3 separate regions of the Homo sapiens genome follow, and all the other regions are linked to region 2. Evidence: promoter capture Hi-C in 16 types of primary human blood cells and fetal thymus (Javierre and others, 2016). All regions are on one chromosome and are shown on one strand. Each heading gives the region's core, a stretch centred on a gene start or on the middle of the fragment in contact. The rest is flanking DNA. Distances are from core to core; before and after follow the strand shown.

The links. Contacts are between HindIII fragments. The CHiCAGO score rates a contact against its expected background, and 5 or more counts as called.
Region 1: a fragment that was not itself captured here is called in contact with the fragment with the promoter of OR7E24 in region 2 in 1 of 17 cell types (naive CD8 T cells); the score reaches 5.6 in naive CD8 T cells.
Region 3: a contact is called between a fragment that was not itself captured here and the fragment with the promoter of OR7E24 in region 2, in 1 of 17 cell types (total CD4 T cells). The highest score is 5.3, in total CD4 T cells.

What each region holds. Positions count from the first base shown.
Region 1 is chr19:9,525,776-9,529,458 of GRCh38, forward strand. It overlaps ZNF426 (zinc finger protein 426), which reads right to left. Exons shown (of 8, transcript NM_024106.3): 8 at 1-3,683. The coding sequence ends at 2,605. Among named protein-coding and RNA genes, the nearest start is that of ZNF426, 11 kb to the right of the region's middle. The HindIII fragment of the contact is 1,097 bases long and covers 1,553-2,649 here.
Region 2 is chr19:9,248,786-9,252,315 of GRCh38, forward strand. OR7E24 (olfactory receptor family 7 subfamily E member 24) reads left to right here and starts at 2,145. Exons shown (of 1, transcript NM_001079935.2): 1 at 2,145-3,530. The coding sequence starts at 2,259. The coding sequence ends at 3,278. The HindIII fragment of the contact is 19,830 bases long and covers 1-3,530 here.
Region 3 is chr19:9,722,215-9,725,753 of GRCh38, forward strand. LOC105372270 (a long non-coding RNA gene) reads left to right here. Exons shown (of 2, transcript NR_187774.1): 2 at 1-196. It also overlaps the pseudogene LOC100130854. Among named protein-coding and RNA genes, the nearest start is that of ZNF846, 45 kb to the right of the region's middle. The HindIII fragment of the contact is 2,804 bases long and covers 577-3,380 here.

The DNA.
Region 1 (3,683 bases), core at 851-3,350, 280 kb after region 2:
TGCGCCTAGCCTTTTATTTATTTATTTATTTTTTTGAGACAGTGTCTCACTGTTTCCCAGGCTGGAGTGCAGTATCACAATCTCGGCTCACTGTGACCTCCACCTCCTGGATTCAAGCAATTCAGGCTGGTCATGAACTCCCAACCTCAGGTGATCCACCTGCCTTGGCCTCCCAAAGTGCTGGTATTACAGGCATAAGCCACCACACCTGGAGTTTTAGTCAGAGCTTCAGTGACCTGGAGGAAGGGAAATATCCAACTCCAGCCAACTCTATACATCCTGACCCAACTAAAGGGTGGGAAAAACTGAAGTTCACAGTGCAGAAGCACAGACTCACTGCAAGACTGACATCTAATCCCTGGACAATAGAATGCTGCCCCTCTCCCCACAGCTTATCATGATTACTAGAGGCCTGCTTACAGCATTTCCTCTTATCCAGTATGCCATGTCCAGCTAAGGAAAAATTACAAGCATACTAAAAGGCAAAAGTTAGTTTAAAGAGAAAGAGTAAGAACCAGAACCAGATATAGCAGGATTGCTGAAATTATCAGACTGGGAATTTAAAACAATTATGATTGATATGCCATGGGTTCTACTGGATAAAGCAGACAGCATCCAAGAACAGACAGGCAGTGTAAACACAGAGATGGAAATTCTAAGAACCACAAAGAAATGCTAGAAATTGAAGACAGTGTAACAGAAATGAAGAATGTCTTTGGTAGGCTTATTATTGGCCAAGAAACAGCCAACTAAAGAGCTTGAGAATATATCAGCAGAAACATCCACACCTGAAAAGCAAAGAGAAGAATAAAAAAACAAGATATAAGAACTGTGGGATAACTACAAAAGATGTATCCTACATATAAAGGAAATACCAGATGGAAAGAAAAAAAAAGGGAAACAATGACAGAATTTCTCAAAATTAACTCAGACACCAAAACGCAAATCCAGGAGGCTAAGCAAACACCAAGAAGGACGAGCACCAAAAACCTATACCTAGGCATATCATTTAAAAATAACAGAATATCAAAGATAACAAAAAATTTTCATAGAAGCCAGAGGGGGGGAAATGCTTTAAGTATTGAGGATCAAGTATAAGAATTACATCCAACTTTGAGCATAGAAGGAAGAAGTGAAGGTAAAATAAAAATGTTTATTTTTCTAATACTTAATTGATCTGATAACTTCTGAAAAATAGCTACAATGTATTAGATTACATATGCTAATTTGTGTGTGTTTATAGGCATAAAAGTGAAATATAGTAATGATGGAAGGTCTGAGAGGGAGGATTTAGGATTATTTTGATAGTATAAGGTACTAACACTACTCAAGAAACGGTACAGTATTATCAGAATTCATGTACTTATTATGGCATGTGAAATATTTAAAGGTTATACCATATTCCTTACCTTCCCAGGGTTCTGAGGTAATTTTACATGTGTAAAAAAAATTCTGTGGAATTAATGTAAGGCTTCCTACATGCATTACAGGTAAAAGGCTTCTCTCCAGTTCGACTTCTTACACCTTCTAGAAGGTAGAAAACATTAATGTAAGCTTTTCCACAATCCTAATGGGATTTCAGTCCACTCCAAGTTCCAGTATGGTGTATGGGGTCACATTCCTTGCGTTCACAGTAAAAGAAACTTTCTTTCCTTTTTTCTCCTCTATTTTCACATGGTCTACGACCAGACAACTTGCATGTGAATATTAAAATATAGTGAACATTCACAGGCTTTTTCATGCTCCTTACATTCATACAATTTCTCTCCTATGTGATTTCTCCTGTATGTAGAAAGGACTGAAGACTCAATGAAGGCTCTCCCACGTCTTACATTCATATAGTTTCTCTCCAGTGTGGCTTTGCATGTGAATATTAAGGCTTTTGGACAATCTATAAACGTTTTTGCTTATTGCTTACTGTATTCACTTGCTAGAGCCACCACAACAAAATACCACAGACTGGGTGGCTCAAACAAGAGAATTTTATTTGTTCAAAGTTCTGGAAGCCCAAGATGAAGGTGCCAGCAGGGTTGGTGGCTTTGATAGAAGGATCTGTCCCAGTGCTCTGTCTTTGGCTTGCAGATGGCCATCATCTGATGACTTCACATCATCTTCTATTTGTTGTCTCAGTTGTGTCTTTCTCTTCTTATAGGGACACCAATCATATTGGATTAGGGATGTACTCTAACAGACTCAATTTAATCAAATAATTTTCTTTTTTTTTTTTTTTTGAGATGGAGTCTCACTCCATCGCCCAGGCTGGAGTGCAGTGGCATGATCTCTGCTCACTGCAACCTCTGCTTCCTGGGTTCAAGTGATTCACTTGCCTCAGCCTCCCAAGTAGCTGGGATTACAGGTGCCCACCACACCTGGCTAAATTTTTTGTATTTTCAGTAGAGACAAGGTTTCACCATGTTGGCCAGGGTGGTCTCAAACTCCTGACCTCAAGTGATCCACCCACCTCAGCCTCTCAAAATGCTGGGATTACAGGAATTAAGTAATTTTCATGCAGCTTCTTCTCTCCAGAGTGAGTTCATTCATGTCTTTAAAGTGAACTGGAACAAATGAGAGCTTTCCCACATTTATTACATGGACAGTTTCTCACTAGTGAATTTGTTCATGTCTTCGAAGTGAACGGGGATGACTGTAAGCTTTCCCGCATTGCTGACATTTATAGGGTTTCTCTTCTGTGTGAGTTTTTTCATGAATTCTAAAGGAACTGGAACACGTGAAGGCTTTCCCACACTCCTTGCATTCATAGGGTTTCTCTCCAGTGTGAGTCCTTTCATGTATTTGAAATGAACTGGAATGACTGAAGGCCTTTCCACATTGTTTACACTCATAGGGTTTTTCTCCAGTGTGGATTCGCATGTGAATTTTAAGGTGGGTGGAATAGTTAAAAGCCTTCCCACATTCCTTACAGGTGTATGGTTTCTGGGCACTGTGCGTTCGCATGTGATTATTAAGACATGAGGGATACCCAAATACTTTCCCACATATCTTACACTCACAGGCCTTCTCTTCAGTGTGAGTTCTCAAATGTCCACTAAGATTTGAGGAAACTGCAAAGGCTTTCCCACATTCAACACATACAAAAGGCTTCTCTCCAGTGTGAGTTCTTATATGTTGAATAAGGCGTGAGGATGTAAGGAAGGATTTCCCACATTCCTTACATTCATAGGGCTTGTCTCCACTGTGAGATCGTACATGCATACTAAGGCCCGAGTACTGAGTGAAGGCTTTCCCACATTCCTTACATACATAGGGTTTCTCTCCAGTGTGAGTTCTTCCATGTATCTGAAATGAGTTGGAATAATTGAAGGCTTTCCCACATTCCTTACATTCATATGGTTTCTCCCCAGTGTGGGTTCGCATGTGAATACTGAGGTAGGCTGGGTATCTATAGCCTTTTCCACATTCCTTACATTTGTAGGGCTTTTTTGCATTGAGGGTTTCTATAAGCACAGAAAGGCTTGTAGAGTCAATAAAACCTGGCCCATAATTCCTCCATTCGTAGAGTTTTTCTCCATTGTGAGTTCTCATATGTGCCTGAAGGTATGACTCATTAATGAAGGATTTTCCACAGTGACTACATTCAAATGACTTTTCTTGTGTGCTAGTTCTCTGGTATACAATATTTGGTGTCAGGCTGAAGATTTTTTCACTCTGATTAAACTCAGAAA
Region 2 (3,530 bases), core at 895-3,394:
TCAAAATGCGCTTCAGATGCACCTGTGCTTAAGACCTCTGGCCATTGCTTAAAACTTTCTGAGAGCTGGGAAACAATGAAGAAGTTTAGTGCCAGAGACTCAAAGACCAACCATTTAATTCCAAATCCTGCCCATGCCCCTGATCTGTGTGACAAGGGGTGAGATGTCTGTGTCTCTGAGGCTCAACACTATCATCTGAGTTGATTTCTGGTAGATCCCACTGCAGTGAGCAATGATTAAACAGACCGTGTGTGCTCCTGTGTGATCCCTATGTGATGGATGCATAAAGTGAAGTGTATTCTACATGTTTTCTATTAATATTCCAAGGTTAATCTCCATACCATTGAACTGAAATATCCAGGAACCTAGCTATGGTTCCCAATGTCTCTGACAGGACATTTAATTTTTGCCCTTATATAAGTAAGTACTGAGGATTGTGAGAGGAATATTTGAGTTTCTTTCAACTCTGATTTCCCAGAGCCTGTATCTTGCTTGGTACAGAGGAGACACCAAAAATTAGAATCTCTGTTACATATTGAATAGACCCTTCCTTAGTTCACAAAACTGGCTGTGATCAGTGTGACTTCAACACACTCACTGCTTTCCTATCTGTACTTTCATTCCTTCCAGGAATGTGTCACAAACTAGGCAGAAGGTAAAATAGCACTTTTTTGTGTCTATATTATGGACACATAATAATAGCATCTACAACATTCAATTACTTAAAGACCATGGCAGAGATTTTTACAGGCATAAAAAAAGAGAAAAGGATGCAGAAGGAAGTGGGGGCAGGTAAACCTTATTGTTTAGATCAAGATACATTTTAGAGTTTCACATGATTCCAGCCACAACGAAAGTAATGCCAAAGTATTTTAACATTACCTTGGCCAGGCACAGTGGCTCACACCTGTAATCCCAGCACTTTGAAAGGCAGAGGTGGGCAGATTACTTGAGGTCAGAAGTTTGAGACCAGCCTGGCCAACATGGTGAAACTCCATCTCTACTAAAAATACAAAAATCAGCTGTGCATGGTGGGGCGTGCGCCTGTAGTCCCAGCTACTCGGGAAGCTGAGGCATAAGAATCGCTTGAACCCAGGAGGCGGAGGCTGCAGTGAGCTGAGATCATGCCACTGCATTCCAGCCTGGTGACAGGCTCAAAACTTCGAGACTCAGGTCTTAAAAAAAAAAATTAAAAGCATTTTAACATTATATTAATGTTCTGTCATCCACAGGTACGTTGCACACTATCAACATCTTTGCTATCAGTGATGTCCTGGTAATTATGTGCATTTAACTAAACCTTCCTTTTAATTACTTATTGATTTAATAGTCAAGGTCTCACTCTGCCACTCTGCCTAGAGTGCGGTGGTATGATCATGGTTCAGTGCAGCCTCGAACTCCAGGGCTCAAGCGATTCTCCTGACTCAGCCTCCTGAGTAGCTGGGACTACAGGGCGGCGCCACCATGCCTGTCTAATTTTTTAGTTTTTTGTAAAGATGGGGTTTTGCTGTGTTTTCCAGGCCGGTCTTAAACTCACATCCTCAAGCAATCCTCCTGCCTTGGCCTCCCAAAGTGCTAGGATTCCAGGTGTGAGCCACCACCCTGGGCTACTTTCTTATCAAAACTCCAAGTCCACCTAAGGCAAGGACAGGAATTATAATTAAGTGAATTTTAAAAGAAAGCCCACATATTTGAGTGAGTACTTACTTCCATGAAGAATGAAAGTCAGAAAACGTAAGAATGATGGAAACCGTAGAATATAACTGGTATGTAAAGATGTTTTCTGGCTATGAACTATGAACTTTCATTGAGTTTTGAGACAACATGATCCTAGATCTCATTGAGTGTTGATAAATATCCTCAATCAATGGAATTTGTAGAATTGTATTAGAATAAAACAAGACATAGCTGACTCCTTCTTAGTATCCTTTCAATGGATTTAATCTTTTTCTTAAAGGGGCAAGAATATTTTTGTTGTATATTTTTTCCTGATAAATTAGGCTATATTTTACCGTGATCATGGATTTCTAAAATCTCTAATGTTTTTGCTCTCCTAACATTCTTCAATAGACTGTCTCTAAGTTAAGTGTATACAGAAAGAGGTGAATAACACAAAATCAATTATGAAGTAACTCTAAGGAAATTGGGTTTGTCACAACTGAGAACTATTGCTGAGGGTGTATAATCCTATGTGAAAACTTAATTTCTTAATTGCTTGTATCCAAAATATAGACACAGTGCTAGATGCTGGTTTACTTATGTCCTATTTTCCAATTCTCTTTTTTTTTTTCCTCAAAAGGTGTCCGAGCTACACAGAGCCACAGAATCTCACAGGTGTCTCAGAATTCCTCCTCCTGGGACTCTCAGAGGATCCAGAACTGCAGCCGGTCCTCGCTGGGCTGTTCCTGTCCATGTACCTGGTCACGGTGCTGGGGAACCTGCTCATCATCCTGGCTGTCAGCTCTGACTCCCACCTCCACACCCCCATGTACTTCTTCCTCTCCAACCTGTCCTTGGCTGACATCGGTTTCACCTCCACCACGGTCCCCAAGATGATTGTGGACATGCAAACTCACAGCAGAGTCATCTCCTATGAAGGCTGCCTGACTCAGATGTCTTTTTTTGTCCTTTTTGCATGTATGGATGACATGCTCCTGAGTGTGATGGCCTATGACCGGTTTGTGGCCATCTGTCACCCCCTGCACTACCGAATCATCATGAACCCACGCCTCTGTGGCTTCTTAATCTTGTTGTCTTTTTTTATTAGTCTTTTGGACTCCCAGTTGCACAATTTGATTATGTTACAGCTCACCTGCTTCAAGGATGTGGACATTTCTAATTTCTTCTGTGACCCTTCTCAACTCCTCCACCTTAGGTGTTCCGACACCTTCATCAATGAAATGGTCATATATTTCATGGGTGCCATATTTGGCTGTCTCCCTATCTCAGGGATCCTTTTCTCTTACTATAAAATTGTTTCCCCCATTCTGAGAGTTCCAACATCAGATGGGAAGTATAAAGCCTTCTCCACCTGTGGCTCTCACCTGGCAGTTGTTTGCTTATTTTATGGAACAGGGCTTGTAGGGTACCTCAGTTCAGCTGTGTTACCATCCCCCAGGAAGAGTATGGTGGCTTCAGTGATGTACACTGTGGTCACCCCCATGCTGAACCCCTTCATCTACAGCCTGAGGAACAAGGACATTCAAAGTGCCCTGTGCAGGCTGCATGGCAGAATCATCAAATCTCATCATCTCCATCCTTTTTGTTATATGGGATAGAAATGGCAGCAAAATTTAACACCTAGGCCTGCAAATTCTGCCTCCTTGGTCACATTATTTTGGTTGCTTGATGGCTTTCATTCCTCTCTGGGTTTCGTATGTGAATATTGCTTGCTTTGTTTTGTCTTTAATTGCAATGGGTGAGTATTCTGGTATCCTTTGTTCATCATACACATCATGAATGATTCCAATATACCTAGACAGCCTCCTTTAGTATCTGTGCAATGACCTTGATATCCAGGTGCAATCACA
Region 3 (3,539 bases), core at 729-3,228, 470 kb after region 2:
AAATGCTCTCCATTGTGTGATGTGCTCTCGCCATTGCTCCACCCACAAGATACACTCTTCTATACAAGTAAATTTGCCTAGCTGAGAAAACTTATATTCAAATGCTATTTCTTTTGTGGCACTAAAAATTTGTTCCAACAATAGATTTCTGTGGTTTTAACCTCACTTATTTAAAATTAAATGGATTTGTAAGCCATTTGGTCTGTGGTATTTTGTTATGGTGGCCTGAGCTAAGGCAGATTTTGTACTGAGAAGTAGAGGTACTGCAATTAAAAACAAACAAACAAACAAAAAACTAAAAACGTGAAGCAGCTTTGAAACTGACAAATGAGTAGAAGCTCGAAAAGTTCTGATGTGCAAGCTGGAAATAAGGTTGATAAGGGTAATTCTGGTGAGGTGTCACTGGGGAATGAGGAACATGCTATTGGAAAATAAAGAAAAGACAACCCTTGATATAAAGTGGTGAAGAACTTGGCAGAACTGTATTCTAGCATTTTGTGGAAGGTAGAGCTTCAGAGAGATAAAATTGAGTATTTATCACTAAGATCTGTAATTAAAGTGTTAAAGGACACAGGAAGCTTCATTCTTCCTGACTGCTTACAGGAAAATGCAAAAGAGGAGACTTGAATTGCAGAATAAATTGTTAAGGAACAAGAAACCAGAACTTGGAGATTTGGAAAATTCTCAGCCTATTCATACTACAAAAATTAGAAAACTTGTACTGAAGAGAATCCTCAAAGTGTGGCTGAAAAATCATCTCATAAAGAGATCATGAGTGGGATTCATGGACTATATCAGCCATCTTAAGAGAAATGAGGAGAGAGACTGGATTACACTAGAAGAGACACTGCCACTTACATTGTGCCATGTAAAATGGACAGAGAAGGCAGAACAGAACAGGCAAGGCTGTCACACTTCTTAGATTTTACAAGAAGCGGTCACAGAAATAATCAGCTTTGAAAGTGCACTGGCAGTAAAAGATGGTTTCATTCCTGCCATGATCTGCAGGATCCCTGGGAACAGAGAAGACTCTTGGAGGAGCATCTTTTAACAACCCAACTCTGGGGCCTACATTATCTTGGCTTCTGGTAAATTTTGACATGAATGTGCCACTGGCAGCCACTAACCAACAGGGGCTGGGGTCAATCTGCATGATTTATCTCACACAGAACTTGTTAATGCTATGATCTTAGGAATCTAATCAGCAAGGTGAGGCAGCCTGCAGTACTGACCTCACCATCCATGACCCTTCTTCACAGATACCAAGACTCAGGCAACCATGAAGTTGTATTCAGAAGCTGTAGGTTTAATTTCAGACTCTTGGGATGGCATCTAAGGCCAGTCCATCAGCCATTACAACCCTCACAAGGCATTTAGGACAAATCTGATAATCTTCTGGTGTCACTGCCAATAATTAAAGATGGCAACCGATGAGCTAAATGGTAACACTCATACCCTTATATTCATAGGGTTTCTCCCCAGTGTGAATTCTTTTTTTTGAAATGAAGTCTCACTCTGTTGTCCAGGCTGGAGTGCAGTGGCTCAATCGATCTCGGCTCACTGCAACCTCTGCCTCCAAGGTTCAAGGGATTCTCCTGCCTCAGCGTCCTGAGTAGCTGGGACTACAGGTGCATGCCACCATGCCTGGCAAATTTTTTGTACTTTTAGTAGAGATGGGGTTTCACCGTGTTAGCCAGGATGGTCTCAGATCTCCTGACCTCATGATCCACCCACCTTGGCCTCCCAAAGTGCTGGGATTACAGGCATGAGCCACTGTGCCCAGCCATGATTTTATGTCTACCTAGGTGTGAGGAAACAATAAATGCTTTCCCATATTCTTTACATATGAAGGGTTTCTCTCCAGTATGAGTTTGCAGGTGAATATTAAGGGATGAGGAAAATATAAATGCTTTCCCACATATCTTGCATACAAAGGGCTTTTCTCCACTATGAGTTTTCAAATGTTAAGTACGATGGGAAGAAGTAATGAAGGTTTTTCCACATTCAACACATTCATAAGGCTTCTCTCCCATCTGAATTATTGTATGTTGAGTAAGGCCTGAGGATCTAGTGAAGGCTTTTCCACATTTGTTACACTGATAGGGTTTCTCTCCACTGTGACTTCGTAAGTGTATAGCAAGGCCCGTGTACTGAGTGAAGGCTTTCCCACATTCCTTACATTCATAGGGTTTTACCCCAGTGTGAGTTCTTACATGTTCAGTAAGTTGAATTGATCTAGTGAAGGCTTTCCCACAGTCTGTATATTTGTGTGGTTTTTACTCCAGTTGGAGTTTGAATGTGATCATTAAGATATGAGGAATTTCTAACGGAAATTCCACATTCTTTACAATCAAAGGACTTCTCCTCTTTATGAGTTTTCACATGTGCAGAAAGTTGAGAAAAATTAGTGAAGGATTTCCCATATTTCTTAGTCTTTTTGAATTTCTTTCCAGTATGAGCTGTTACACACTGCTTTAGGTGTGAGGAGGGTGTGATGGTTCTCCCACATTCCTGAAATTCAGAGTTTCTCACCAGCGTGAATTCCCATGTGATTATCAAGGCTTGCAAAACACTTAAAGCCTTTTCCACATTCCTTACATTTGTACGGTTGTCTTGCATTGAGAACTTCAAGATGTTCAGCAAGGCCTGGAGTTAGGGTGAAGACTTTTCCACATGGATTAAATTTAGAAAGTTCCTGTCCAATAGAGGCTTCTTTGTGCACACTAAGGGTGTCTTTTCCATAACAATTACCCTCAAAAGTGTTCCCTCCATTCTGAGCTCTCATGTGTGTCTTAAGGAAAAACAGCTCCCTGAAGACCTCTTCACAATTCTTACAGAGTTTCCATCCACTGTAGCTTCTTGTCTGCTGATGAGGGGATAAAGGATTTAAAACATTTTCCAACATATTAAGAGATTTCACCCATTTGAACACAGAAACATTATTTTGATGACAATTATTATTTTACTTTTCAATGATTAAATTTTTTTTGAGACAAAGTCTTGTTCCATCTTCCAGGCTGGAATGCAGTGGCACAATCTGGGCTAACTGAAACCTCCACCTCCCAGGCTCAAGTGATCCTCATGCCTCAGTCTCCCAAGTAGCTGGGAATACAGGTGCTGCTAATGCACCCGGCTAATCTGTACCAAGTCAGCCACAAACGCCAGGCCATGTTCTGAGCTGATTCATAAGGGCAGTCCAAACCCAGGAATAAGATCTCAGAGAAGCACACAGGTTACCTCGTAGACCTTTTCAGTTGATGTTGGATAAGCCTCCACCCACCCAGAGTAAGTACACACAAGAACCAGCAAATAATTGTTACCTCCACATTTCGGCATTTCTGTGAAATCCACCTGAAGATCCTCAAAAGGAGCCGTACATAAGCTTGTATGCCGGGTGGAACAGTGAGGCCTTGCCTCGCATTGTGCTGTCGGCAAGTAATGCACCATTGTGCTACTGCTTTGCAAGGGCTGGCAAGTGTGAGATGTAGAAGTACCGGCCTAACAATTTTTCAAGTGACTCTTGACCTAGATGAGTGGTT